2 separate regions of the Homo sapiens genome follow, and region 1 is linked to region 2. The links are contacts of gene promoters, found by promoter capture Hi-C in blood cells and fetal thymus (Javierre and others, 2016). All regions are on one chromosome and are shown on one strand. The core of a region is centred on a gene start or on the middle of the fragment in contact, and the rest is flanking DNA. Distances in the headings are between cores, read along the strand shown.

Region 1 (6,101 bases), core at 356-2,855, 490 kb before region 2:
CCATGGTATATATTTGCCACATTTTCTTAATCCTGTCTACCACAATGGACATTTGGGTTGGTTCCAAGTCTTTGCTATTATGAATAGCGCCACCATAAACATACATGTGCATGTGTCTTTATAGTAGCATGATTTATAATCCTTATCTTCACAGGTATTTGTTTAACTGAGCTGAGTAAATGAAGAGATCTTTCATTCAGTAACCAGTCCAGATGACTATATAGTCACCAAAAACAAATACACTACTTTCTACTCTTACACTTTTCTAATGCCAAACAGGACAAAATATGTCTTTTACTAGAACAATTCAGGCTTTAAAGTGAACGATTTCTATCTCTAGTTACACAGCATATAAATAGGATATGCAATTATTTCCAAAGATTTTGGGGCTGTCGCTTCTTACTTTTCTTCTTCTTATTCAATAAGCCCTCACTTCCATACCAGGATACCTTTGATAATGGCATCACTTGTGGGACAAACCCAACAGTCAACATATAAATGATACTTATTGCTTATTAATCATAACAGTAATAGTACATTTCTATTTGCATCGCCCTTTACAACTTAGAGCCCTTTTGTATGCATTTGCTAAATTAATGATTGCAACAATTCTGTGAGAGAAGGTAAATGGTTCCAGGATAGGTCTGAAGAAACTAAAGCTGAAAATGCCTAAAACTTTGCTCAAAATCATATGACTAAACATGAAAGAGCCTCAAGAGAATAAAAGGATAACCCACAGATTGAAAGAAATTATTTGCAACAGACATATTTGATTTAAAACATGTAATATAAAACATACAAAGAACACTTTAAATTCAATAATAAGAAAATAACCCCAATCCAAAAATGGGCCAAAGGCCTGAACTGATACCTCATCAAAACGATATACAGATAGCAGATAAGCATATGAGAAGATGCTTCAAGTTAAATGTCATTTGAGAAATGCAAATTAAAACAATAAAAAGATACTACTACATACCTATTAGAATGACCAATATCCAAAGCACAGGTAATACCAAATGTTTAAAAGATGTGGAGCAACAAGAACTCTCATTCATGGCTGGTAGTGGAATGCAAAATGGTACAGCCACTTTGGAAGACCATTTGGCAGTTTCTTACAAAACTAAATATACTCTTACCATATGATCCAGCAATTGTGCTCCATGGTATTTACCCAAATAAACTGAAAAATCTGTGTCTGCACCAAAACATGTACATAGATTTTTCTAGCAGTTTTATTCATAATGTCCAAAACTTGGAAGCAAACTTCAAGTTTTCCAAGTTCACCTTCCTCAGCAGGTGAATGAATAACTAAACTGTGGCACAACCTGACAATGTAATATTATTCAGTGCTAAAAAAATAAGCTATGAAGCCAAGAAAAAACATAGAGGAACTTTAAATGCACACTACTAAGTGAAAGATCTGAAAAGGCTACATTATTGTTTGATTCTGACTACATGACATTCTGGAAAAGGCAAAACTATGGAGAGAGTAAAATGATTAGTGCTTGTTAGGGGTTGGGGGAGGAGGGGACGGGGCAGGAGACAGGATTTTTAGAGCAGTGAAACTAGTGTGTGTGACATGTATAATGATGAATATATGTCATTACATATTTGTCAAAACCCATAGAATATACACTAACAGTGAGTCCTACTGTAAACTATGGACTTTGACTGATAATAATGTCAATTTAAGTTCATCACTTGTAACAAATGTACCACTCTGGTGTGGAATGTTTATAGTGGGAGAGGCAGGGGTGGTGGAAGGTGGACAGGGGACATATGGGAACTCTGTACTTTGTGCTCAGTTTTGCTTTGAGCCTAAAACTGCTCTAAAAACTCTATGTAAAAGAGAAAAAATAAATACTAAGAGCCGAAAAGAAAACCTTAACCACATACTACATATCATGCTGTAAGCAAGGCTGATCCTAAAACCAAAGCAGCCATATTCAACAGTCCTTGAACTTCTCAGCCTTAAGACTCAGCTAGTACTGTAGGGGTTATCAAATGTACTGACTATCTATAGAAATACTTAATAATGGAGAAACCATTATTCTGTCTCCTCAGTAGTCCCTAAATCAATACACAAATAATTCTAAAGATGCTAGGCATGTGATAGCTATCCCCTTTACAATAGCTAGCTTCCTTCATTAAAAGGAAATTCAAAACAAAAAGGACTTAAACAACTAAAATATATATAAATTTTAAATTTTAAAAATGAAGGAGCCAGGATGAAGACTTGCTTGCTTCCAGGACAGGGTTCTTTTGGGGTTCCTGCTTAATGATCAGGGCTGCTGGTCATTATTTGATTAGGCAGATCATGGGCTACATAACGCAGCAGGATAGGGGGGCAAATCAGGGCTGAACCCAACTTGCACTCATCTAGCCAAGCCTCATGCCCAGATGAAAGCGTTGGCTGCCCAGGGAAGGAATCCTCTTTTTTAATGTTCGCAAGACAACATACACTAGCCAAGCCATGGCCCTGTGCAGCTACATTCTCCAGAGAAGGCAGCTTTTCTTTAATTTACACAAACACATCTTCTGAGGAAGTAATAGCCCAGCTATGAAAAAAGAATTTTAATTTTAGTAATAATTAAGCAAGGATAAAACAGGCTCTTCCATGCCTAGTGGAATTAATTAAGTTTTGGACCAGAAAGCATTTAATATCTTCTAAAATCTAGATGATCATATTCAAACTGTAATAGGACAGATATATCCAGTTCTTATAAAGCCTTCCCTTTGTTTTGTTTTTTGTTGTTGTTGTTTTTGTTTTTGTTTGTTGGCTTTTTTTTAACTATTGGGAACATTTTTATAAATGGCTGTCTCAAAACACTGTGTCAAAATAATCTATTTTACCACAAAACATTTACAACAAATATGACTTTCATATTTGTTGCAAATCTGATCCTCACCTTATCTCTGCCCCAAGTCCATCACTGACTATCATAATCCACACCAAACTGCAAACTACCTTGTCAAAATGTAAAAGGGCTCATTTATACTATGAAATAATATACGTATCAAGTTCTTGATACTTTTACCCCACTTCATCACTAATCCTTTCTCAAGAGGGAGGGTGTAGCCAGTGGGATAAGGGTCAGGAATGGAGTGAGAATATAATTTTTCATGTTACTTAATAACAAAATTCTGAAAGACAAAATGTTAATTTTTAAAGCCATCTAAAAATGTTCCCAAATCACAGTAACCATGCTGAGAAGCCTAGTGCTCTAATCAGACTTAAAATAGAATTCAGCATTTCTACCATCTTGGATCTGTTCATTTGTTCAACTTATAGTATTTTTGAGGTATTAAAACAAAATAAATTAGGGATTTATATGTGCTGCCTATTTTATTAGACATGCAACATGCAATCCTCTCTCTCAACAGAAAGCTACAATTTTATCACTTCCGTGTCTGAAGTGAAGATTACCATCAGCATCTTGAGTGAGAAAATCAGACAGAGTGTTCATATCCTTTCCTCATGGATCTGGGCCAGAAAAGTTTCCGGCTCACTCACCTTTGGGTTCGTGTGATTCATCATCACTGTCCGAGCTATCATTACTCACAATATGCTTTGTGGTAATATTTTCTGTGAAAAGAAAACAAAAAAATTGAAGCATTTCAGGTGTCAAAATTAACAATTAATTTTAATATAAAAAAGTAATCTGAGCAAAACCACAGAGTGAGATCTACTAGCTCTACTAGTATAAATTTAAATCCATTTAATAATTCTAGATTTATTAGATTTAATCATGTTCTCAGATTTCTCACTGGAAACAAAATTTCCTGGGACATGAAAAATTAGTTTATATTTATTAATTCATGACTTAAAGAGGATAATTTTATGTTTATCATAATTCTGACAAAAATAACAACTTGATTATAGGAAGCTCCTTGTTATACCAAAAAATATGCCTTTTTCTTTATTAGATATTTTTAAGTGGTGTTTATGAAGATAAAGGATAAAACCAAAATCTACAGGTGAGCTACCAAACAGTTTTCTTAAAATGAATGAAAGATACTAACATAAATTATCTTTTGACTTTCAATAATATTGAAAATTGTCAGTTGAAATTCACCTTTTGGTGTCAAGAATTTGTGCTTCCTGCAGAACATATTAAGAGAGCAGTTATAAAAACTAAAATAACAACCAGAAATCCTTAAAACAAAGACAGCAGTAAATTCTAGCATAATAACTAGTTATCTTTCTTCTTTATGTTTTTTAAATGGTTACCCAGGCTGGCCTGCAGTGGCATGATCTCTGCTCATTTCAACCTCTGCCTCTGGGCTCAAGCAACCGTTCCACCTTAGCCTCCTGAGTAGCTGGGATTATAGGCATGGACCATCATGCTTGGCTAATTTTTTTAATTTTTTTTTTTTTTTTTTGGTAGAAATGAAGTCTCACTCTATTGCCTAGGCTGGTCTCAAACTCCTGGACTCAAGTGATCATCCTTCCTTGGCCTCCCAAAGAACTGGGATTACTGGTGTGAGCCACAGTGCCCAGACTAGTTGTCTTTTTTCAAGTAAAATGTGCGTGAATGAGCAAGAGTTAGTAATGGAAGGGTTAATAAATGCTTAAGGCAATGGATTGACATTTATTTTTTAAGTTTTTACTGGCATGATTATACATAAAAAATTTGATTAAATGTTCACAAGCTAATATTATTAGTTTCATTTCATGGCTATCATCAATAGTAATTTTGTTACACAGAGGTGTGGGAGATGTTAAGAAATGATCTATCCCAGGTGCCATATACATTAGGTGTGTTTCTAGTCCTACATTTATTTTCTTTTCCTTCCTTAAGTATTTTCTTTCTTTCTATTGCCTTTCTTTCTTTCTTCTTTCTTTTTCTTTTTTCTTTCTTTCTTTCTTTTCTTTCTTTCTCTTTCTTTCTTTCTCTTTCTTTCTTCTTTCCTTCCTTCCTTCCTTCTTTCTCTTTCTTTCTTTTTCCTTCTTTTTCTTCTTTCTTTCTTCTTTCTTTCTTTCCTTTCTTTCTTTCTGTCACATATGATAGTTTAAGAAAATAGTTCACCAAAATACTGTCTTATTTGTAAGGAAGAATTCACGATATGAATAGCTAACTATTCTGAATTTACATATTTTCCATCCTAGTATAATGTACAACTCCATCTCTCAAAAGTGTAAATTTTTCACATTCATTCAAAACTCCTTAGAGAGTAAGTAGTTTCATTCAGAGTTACCTGATTGTAGCCCAATTTACCTTAAAGTCTTTCTTCAGAAGGAAGAAAACAAAAAAGTAAAAATCATCTCTGAACACTCCTTTAGGAGATAGACTTCAGTCAGCCAAAGGATAGAGTAGTCACCAGGAGTCCTCAGAGTCCTCTTGGTCACCTCTCTGGTTTCATTTCTGGAAATCCTTACTTAATCTGAGGTAACATGCTTCCTGCTGACTGGCGGATCACACATACACGATATTCCCCCTCAGTCTGACACACAGTCCGAGTCAATAAGCTGCCAGACTGCCGGCCTCTAAAGAAACTTCTCAACAAAGAACCTTCTCAAAACTACCTAGTATAAACCTCCTCCTTTTCCTTGGCTTTTAGCCACTGTCTCACCCACATTCAGATCTGTTATTTCAGTCCTATTCTCTTCCTGCCTTAAGAAGAAAAAACAGCAAACCCTGGGTTATCTGGATTATTCAACAGAGGGGCACAGGAAGCAAGCCTCAATATGTGATCTTCTCTTTCTTCTTCTTTTTTTTTTTTTTCTAAAATCTTCACATAACTTAGAGAAAGGGTTTGTTATTTCCACAAAGAGTTGGGAACAGGACATTCATCTGGGATATAATGTTCATTAAAAGAAATCAAGTAAGATCATTTTATCATTATACACATTGCCTTGCAGTTACTCTTAGGAGAATGTGCCCCGTGGTAAATGTCACAGCAGGCTCATGGGTGCCACCTACCTTGTTTGCTCATTAACTGGGTGATGATCAGAGGACAGAAAATAAACAAACACAAGGTGCCTTATTTGTGTGTTTGTTTTTATTTTTATTTTAAAATCTTTGGCTCCAATGAAATTATAAGATAACTTTTCCATTATTCATTAAGAACTAACAAAAATACAAATGACACTCTTG
Region 2 (6,779 bases), core at 1,055-3,554:
AGGTAATTTAATCTGCCCTAAACAGGAGACTTTACTGGTTAACAGTGTGGACCATGGAATTAAGTCATACCTGAATTCGAACGCTGGGGTCTGCATGGACATAATGTCAACATTTGAAACATAAAAACTGTTTTCTTGCTGCTGTATATAGAAGTACCTTGTCCACAGAAGAGTGCTTTCACACAGTAGGCATTCCACTAATATTGGGGAATAAATGCATCAGTTAGATAAGTTATAAAACTTATCCAAGCCTGTCTCCTCATCTATAAAATTATACTTGACCTACCTCAGGGGATTGTTGTAAAGATTATGCGAAGTAAACAATTAGTACCTGACCTGGCATGATGAGCACTCAGAAAGTGTCCTAATTATTAATATTTTTATTTCTGTTTTCTAAGATTATTTTCAGCTGGTTTATAATGTTTGTGCCTTGTAAAGTATTTAGTATTCTTAAAATTGGATGTAAAATCATATATAAAAATCTAAACACTATATCAACATATAATTCTAATACTTTTAAATGTTTTTACATCAATCAAGAATCATATGTGTGAAATAATGACCTTTTGGGCTTTGACTCTTGACAAGTTTTCATGATCTACAAAAATTACTCAATTCATAATTGAAGCAATTAGATCAGATATGCTTGTCCAAATTGTAGGCAAGTGTGTGATGTCCGTAATGACCCCAAATCCCTCCAGTGAACAGGTGCCAGAGATAGCACAAAATAAAAAGCAAATTATGGAAATATCTGTGTTGGGAAGGTGGGGGTAGGATAGGAATTGCTATAGTAATTTTTTTTTTACCGTTAAGTCTCTATGCTTGTGCCTATATTACATATTTGAACATATGAGTACCAAGCTATATTTGACAGTAACTTAAAACATATTTTTTGAATGTTAAAACCACTATGACATTTTTTATCATCAAACTGAAATATTAAATTTCTTCACATTTGCCATCAGAAGGCATCTTTTAAGTTACATTTGTATTGCACCTGACTACATTCTAGATTCTTTAGCTAGAGAGAAAACACTCAGTTCATAAAAACTGAAAGTGAATTGCCCTGAGAAACTCTGTTGAAAAGCATATGTATAGCACACAAACTGGAACATGAAACCTGCTAAATGGGAGGTAAAAATTTGATTTAAGGATGAAAATGAAAGTTAATTTAGAAAATACTTTGATTTCTGGAAGAATCTCTTTGAAAATATTTATGGTTGTGACTCTCTTAAATATTGTAAATTTTATGTACTCTTCTCTATTCTTGAAATCAAATTCTACAATAAAAAATATATAAGCAAACAAAGTTCTGAAATGTGACAGGTTTCCCTCTTACTAACAAAGAGTAAATAAATGACAAATTAATTTAGTATAATAAAACATAACTATTAAAATTTATTTAGACACTATCACTGTTTAAATTGCATTAAGATCCACTTAAAGTTTCTGGGTGAAGCTACATATGACTAAACCTTATAATTTAAAAATCTAAATGTGTTCATTTTAATTGCCATTAATATTAAAAATTTTGTCCTCTTGCTAATTAAAAATTTCCAGTTTTAAGCTTAGAGTAAATTAAATCTCCTACTTTGGCAAAGTTAGATGAGAATTTGGCTGTGAGGATGAAAGATGTTAGGAAAAGATGGAAGATTAAACACATGCATCTACTTCCCCTACATCTCAAAACTCCATTAAAAAACAGCAGGAAAGGAATTTTTAATGGTAAAAACCAGAAACAATAAGGAGAAGTGAAAAGGAGAAAATGCCAATAAAACTAGAATCCAGAAAGCAAGTAGATCTGTAAAGACAGCCCATCTGAAAAAATTGTATTAAAAGCCTGTAGTAAGAGAAGATGAAAATCATAGTATCTCTCTTATTCCTCCCAATGTTGTAGTAATCATAGCACTTCATTGTGATTATCTTTTTACTTACCTGTCTCCCCCACTAGACTGCAAGCCTCACGATATAGGAAATAGGGTTTATTTGTCTTTGTACCCTAGTGCCTAGCTACTGCTTGTTTCACACAAAGTAGGTGCTCAGTAGATGATTATGGGACTAATGAATACAACTCATGTTATTGCGATAAATAGTACTAATAATGACCTCTGTCTCTCATCTATTCAATGTGTTCTGTAAAATATAAACTGACTACTCTTTGTTTGGTTTTGCCTTATTATTAATGAACTGGCCTTGCTAATTCTGTCAATCCTATTACTTGTTCAGAGCTATTTCTGCAAGGGTCATCAATATCTGGAGATTTTAAATCTGAGCTTAAACCTATTGAAGTTCAAGACGAGTTCAGTAGACAGGGATTCTCACCCACTCAACAAGGACACCAGGCACAGAGATCCAAACTGTGAGTCCACAAGTAGTCCTTTTGATAATATAATTTTAAAAATTTTACCTTAGGGGAAAGAATGGTGATTCACTGTTTATGTATTATTGTGTTAATGTAAAATAGTTCAAAGTACATAAGGTTTTGAATTATCTACTATAAAGACAATTAAATACAGCGTATCCTTCTCTCTTTCAGTGATTTCCACCAGTCATCTTCACTAATACAGATTCAGAGTAAACACGCAATTTTGAGCCTGATATTCTAGACTGTTAAAATAAGACCATGAATGGAGAACTCATTTTGCAATTTTAAATTTCCTTTGAGTGAAGGGAGAACTAAAGAGAATAAATGATGAGTCCTTGCACTTTATGTTTGAAGATCTGGCTCCCAAGTTGGAAAAGGAGTGCGGTAGTTGCCCCTTATCCAAGGGGGATATGTTCCAGGACCCCCACTGGATGCCTAAAACCATAGATAAAACTGAACCTTGTGTGTATACTATGTTGTTTTCCTGAACATACATACCTGTGATAAAGTTTAATTTATAAATTAGACACAGTCAGAGGTTAACCATAATCACTAATAATAAAATAGAACCTTTATAACAATATGCTACCATCACAACACTTGCGCTTTGGGACCTTATTAAGTAAATAAGGGTTACTTGAACACAAGCACTGCAATAGTCAATCTGATAACCAAGACAGTAATGCATATGGTGTGGATATGGTATACAAAGAGATGTTTCATGTTCCAGGCCAGAGAGAGCAGGATAGTGTGAGATTTCATCAAGCTACTCAGTACACTGCAAATCTAAAACTTGCAAATTGTTTATCTCTGGAATTTTTCATCTAATATTTTTGGACCAAGGTTGACCAAGGGTAACTGTAATCACAGAAAGAAAAACCTCAGATAAGTGAGGACTGCTGTATTCATCCGGCGCTAAGGCATGTTTTGAGGCTTTTCCTTAGTAGTATGTTGTTGTGGCGGTGGTTTGTTGGTGGTTTTTAATTTTTAAAGTAGAAATAATGTTTGTTTTGAAAGGTTACTTTAGAAATTTAATGAAACAGAAATAATGTTTTTAAAAGAAAAGAACACAGAGTTTGTTGATATTTCTTAAATTCAGTGAAAATTTTCTTTCAATTGGTTTTTTTTTTTCTATTTTGTTTCCATGGAGGTTATTATTATTACTAATAAACCTTACAGTTTGCATCATGAAAATGAGTGCAGTAATTGATTTGCAATGGAGTATTTTTATTAACTGCAAAAATAGCTTCTAACTATAGAGTCCATTTTAAATATATATATATATATATATATATATATACACACACACACATATTGTCCATTGTACCTGCTACTTAGAATCACCTCATATTAAAGCTAGAAAAAACTTTAGAGATCATCTAATTCATCATGACAATTTCTGCCCAAATACTATGTTTATAAGTGGATTTGATATTATATAAGTCATTATCAAAATATATATGAACCATTCATAATAATGTCTGTAATGGAATTCAAACAATATGTACAGGAATATGTATATTTACAAGATAAACAGATACTTTAAAAAAGATGGCTGTTATGAATTTCTAAAATTCTATTTTCTCCAGAACAAGTAAAAGAATATCTGTATGTCTGCAATCCCGGCACCTCGGGAGGCCAAGGCTGGCGGATCACTCGCGGTTAGGGGCTGGAGACCCGGCCAACACAGCGAAACCCCGTCTCCACCAAAACCAGTCAGGCGTGGCGGCGCGTGCCTGCAATCGCAGGCACTCGGCAGGCTTAGAGCTTGTTAAAGATTCCTGGGTCCCACTTCAGATCTGCAAAGCAGGATCTTAGAATCTAGGGCCTGAAAAGGAGGAAGGGTCCTGGTAAATATCCCCAGGCTTTCTTTTTCTTTTTTTCTTTTTTTGAGTTGGAGTCTCATTCTGTCCCCCAGGCTGGAGTGCAGTGGCGAGATGTCGGCTCACTGCAACCTGCGCCTCCCAGGTTCAAGCGATTCTCCTGCGTCAGCCTCCGGAGTATCTGGGACTACAGGCACCCACCACCACGCCCGGTTAATTTTTGTACTTTTTGTAGAGATGGGGTTTTGCCATGTTGCCCAGGCTGGTCTTGAATTCCTGCGCTCAAGTGATCCACCTGCCTTGGCCTCTCAAAGCGTTGGGATTACAGGCGTGAGCCACCGCGCGCAGCCTCTCCAGGCTTTCAGCTGGGACCATGAAGGGCTCCACTCTTTGTGGTGATGATCAGAGGGGCGTATGCCCTCCATAACACTCCCATTCTTCATCTTTTCTCATATTCCAGGAGACTGGCCCAAACAGGACTGTTGAGTGGCTCTAAGGCTTTTAGACGTCAAAAGGGTTTATAAGAATAATCATCATAATATAGTTATGAATCAGAAACATGCATACATTTTCTTAAATGACCCTGTGGGGACTGGAGTTAAAAAGGGAGGAGTACCCAGATGCAGGCGTCTAGCAGAATGGACTTGCTTGAGAATATCAAGCAAGACAGCCAAAGAGGACTCCTAGGATTGTCTCACCAGGACTTCTGAGGCGACTCTAATGAAATGACTTAAAAGTGTGGTGGAGTGGCTTCTGTGGCTCCCACACCTGCCTAATCCTGGTTGATATTGCACAACCAGCGTGCACTGACAATCTCTGGGAAAAAAGCAAGGTCTAATATTCAAAGCTTGGCAAACATGACCAAGACTTTTTCTCTTTCCTTTGAATTATTTTAGTTCCCTAATTTTTTGTCCCAGATGCCACTTAATTCTTTTTATTTTGTATTAAAAGTTGTGCTCTTGTCTCAACCTTCTTTCTAAAAAAAAAAAAAAAAAAAAAAAAAGAATATCTGTATGTCATAATAGCAAACTTGGATAGGTGGATGTCTTTTCACTAGGAACAAGAATTCAGTTATGACTTTTAAAGCTCATATTTCCAGAGTAAATTTTTTTTTACTGATGATACAGGATAACAGATAGGAAATTGATATTTGCTATGCATTCCTGACATACTAATTGTTTAAAAGGCTCCCTACAACTCCCCTGCCCAGTCCCATTTGTTGAAAAAGCAAAACTATTTGAGTAGGGTAGAAACAGAAAATATTACATCAGTTCTATAGTGTCTTATATCAAAATTTCTATCATAGTTTTTCTATCAAAGTTCTTATGAACTTTATCTAGATACTGGGAGTGGGGGGAAGTCAGGCATAAAGTAAGGAAAATTTTCAACAGCATCAGGATGAATGTTTTGTATTTAAAAGAAAGAAAACAAACATTTGCTGACTGCCAACAATTTTCTAATTTGTTATAGCCATTTTGAGGACCATGTGTCCTGTATTCCACTCATGCGTCCCAAAATTTAATTTTAAAGAAAACTCTTATTATGATACCACCAAATGTAAAAATTGACCTATCCCAAAATTAACAACTAACATAACTGAAGGTGGCAACAAAAATCCTAAGTATTGTCTTACTCCATTAGAGAACTGAAATTCAGAAAAGATATATAAAGCATTACAACATAAATGCAAAAGGGAAAATCAAACAGAAAATCACTTATGATCCGCAAAATCATGGGTAGGGAAGACAATTCATTGGAAAACAAGTATGCTACATTCAAATTAAATAATCATTCCCATTTTCCAATTCCAATTAATTCAAGAAATTAATTGTTATGAGGCATAAAATCCCCTGTGTGTCTCTTGTGGAGACACTGAAAGTCTCCACAAGCCCAGTAATACTTTCATGATCTGACATGGTGTTGTCAAACCTATCTGATATGAAATTCTCACCACTGATAATTTATTTTAACAAGAAAGGAAAGGCACAACTGCTTTCTATAGAGTCCAATATGACATTGGGGAAGATATTCTTGGAAGGGGTTAAAACACTTCATATTAATGTGTCTGTATTGGTGAGCATATTAGCTTAGCTTAGTTGATCAGATTAGCTCACAGTCACCTTAGAAAACAGGAAAGCAGAGACCTAAGGAGATGTATGGTTAGAGGTAGAGAAAAGTAGGACGTAAAGCCCTGCAAGGGTGACTAGAACACAGTGTGACACTCCGTGGGGCACAGATCAAGATACCAAATGTAGATTTCTAGCAATAGAATGAAGTAGAATGTCTGTCAATTTTGCCCACTTAGCAGTTTTTCTTAGTTTTAGCCATCTCAAAGCATAGTATGTGCCAGGTAGTGCCTTCAAGATAGATAACTTACTAAATTTCACTTCAGTTGATTTAAGAGGCATTTCACTTCCGTACTTGATTTCCAGTCTGCTATTTTTATCCCATGTTTAATCATGTTCAGTCATTACAATGCCTTTTTAGTGCAGCACCTTCTCTGAAACAGTTTCTTATTCTATGTGTTTCCAAAAGGGAATATGAATATATGCTCTCATGTAAACGAAAGAAAAAATATTGTTTATTTTAAA

Evidence for each region. Contacts are between HindIII fragments. The CHiCAGO score rates a contact against its expected background, and 5 or more counts as called.
Region 1: a contact is called between a fragment that was not itself captured here and the fragment with the promoter of PDC in region 2, in 1 of 17 cell types (erythroblasts). The highest score is 6.0, in erythroblasts.

The regions. Positions count from the first base shown.
Region 1 is chr1:186,948,145-186,954,245 of GRCh38, reverse strand. PLA2G4A (phospholipase A2 group IVA) reads right to left here. Exons shown (of 18, transcript NM_024420.3): 13 at 3,518-3,589. Among named protein-coding and RNA genes, the nearest start is that of PLA2G4A, 120 kb to the right of the region's middle. RefSeq lists a silencer at 3,382-3,582. The HindIII fragment of the contact is 9,445 bases long and covers 1-6,101 here.
Region 2 is chr1:186,456,639-186,463,417 of GRCh38, reverse strand. PDC (phosducin) reads left to right here and starts at 2,304. Exons shown (of 4, transcript NM_002597.5): 1 at 2,304-2,359. All of the region lies in intron 3 of PDC-AS1 (PDC antisense RNA 1), which reads right to left. The HindIII fragment of the contact is 3,468 bases long and covers 1,570-5,037 here.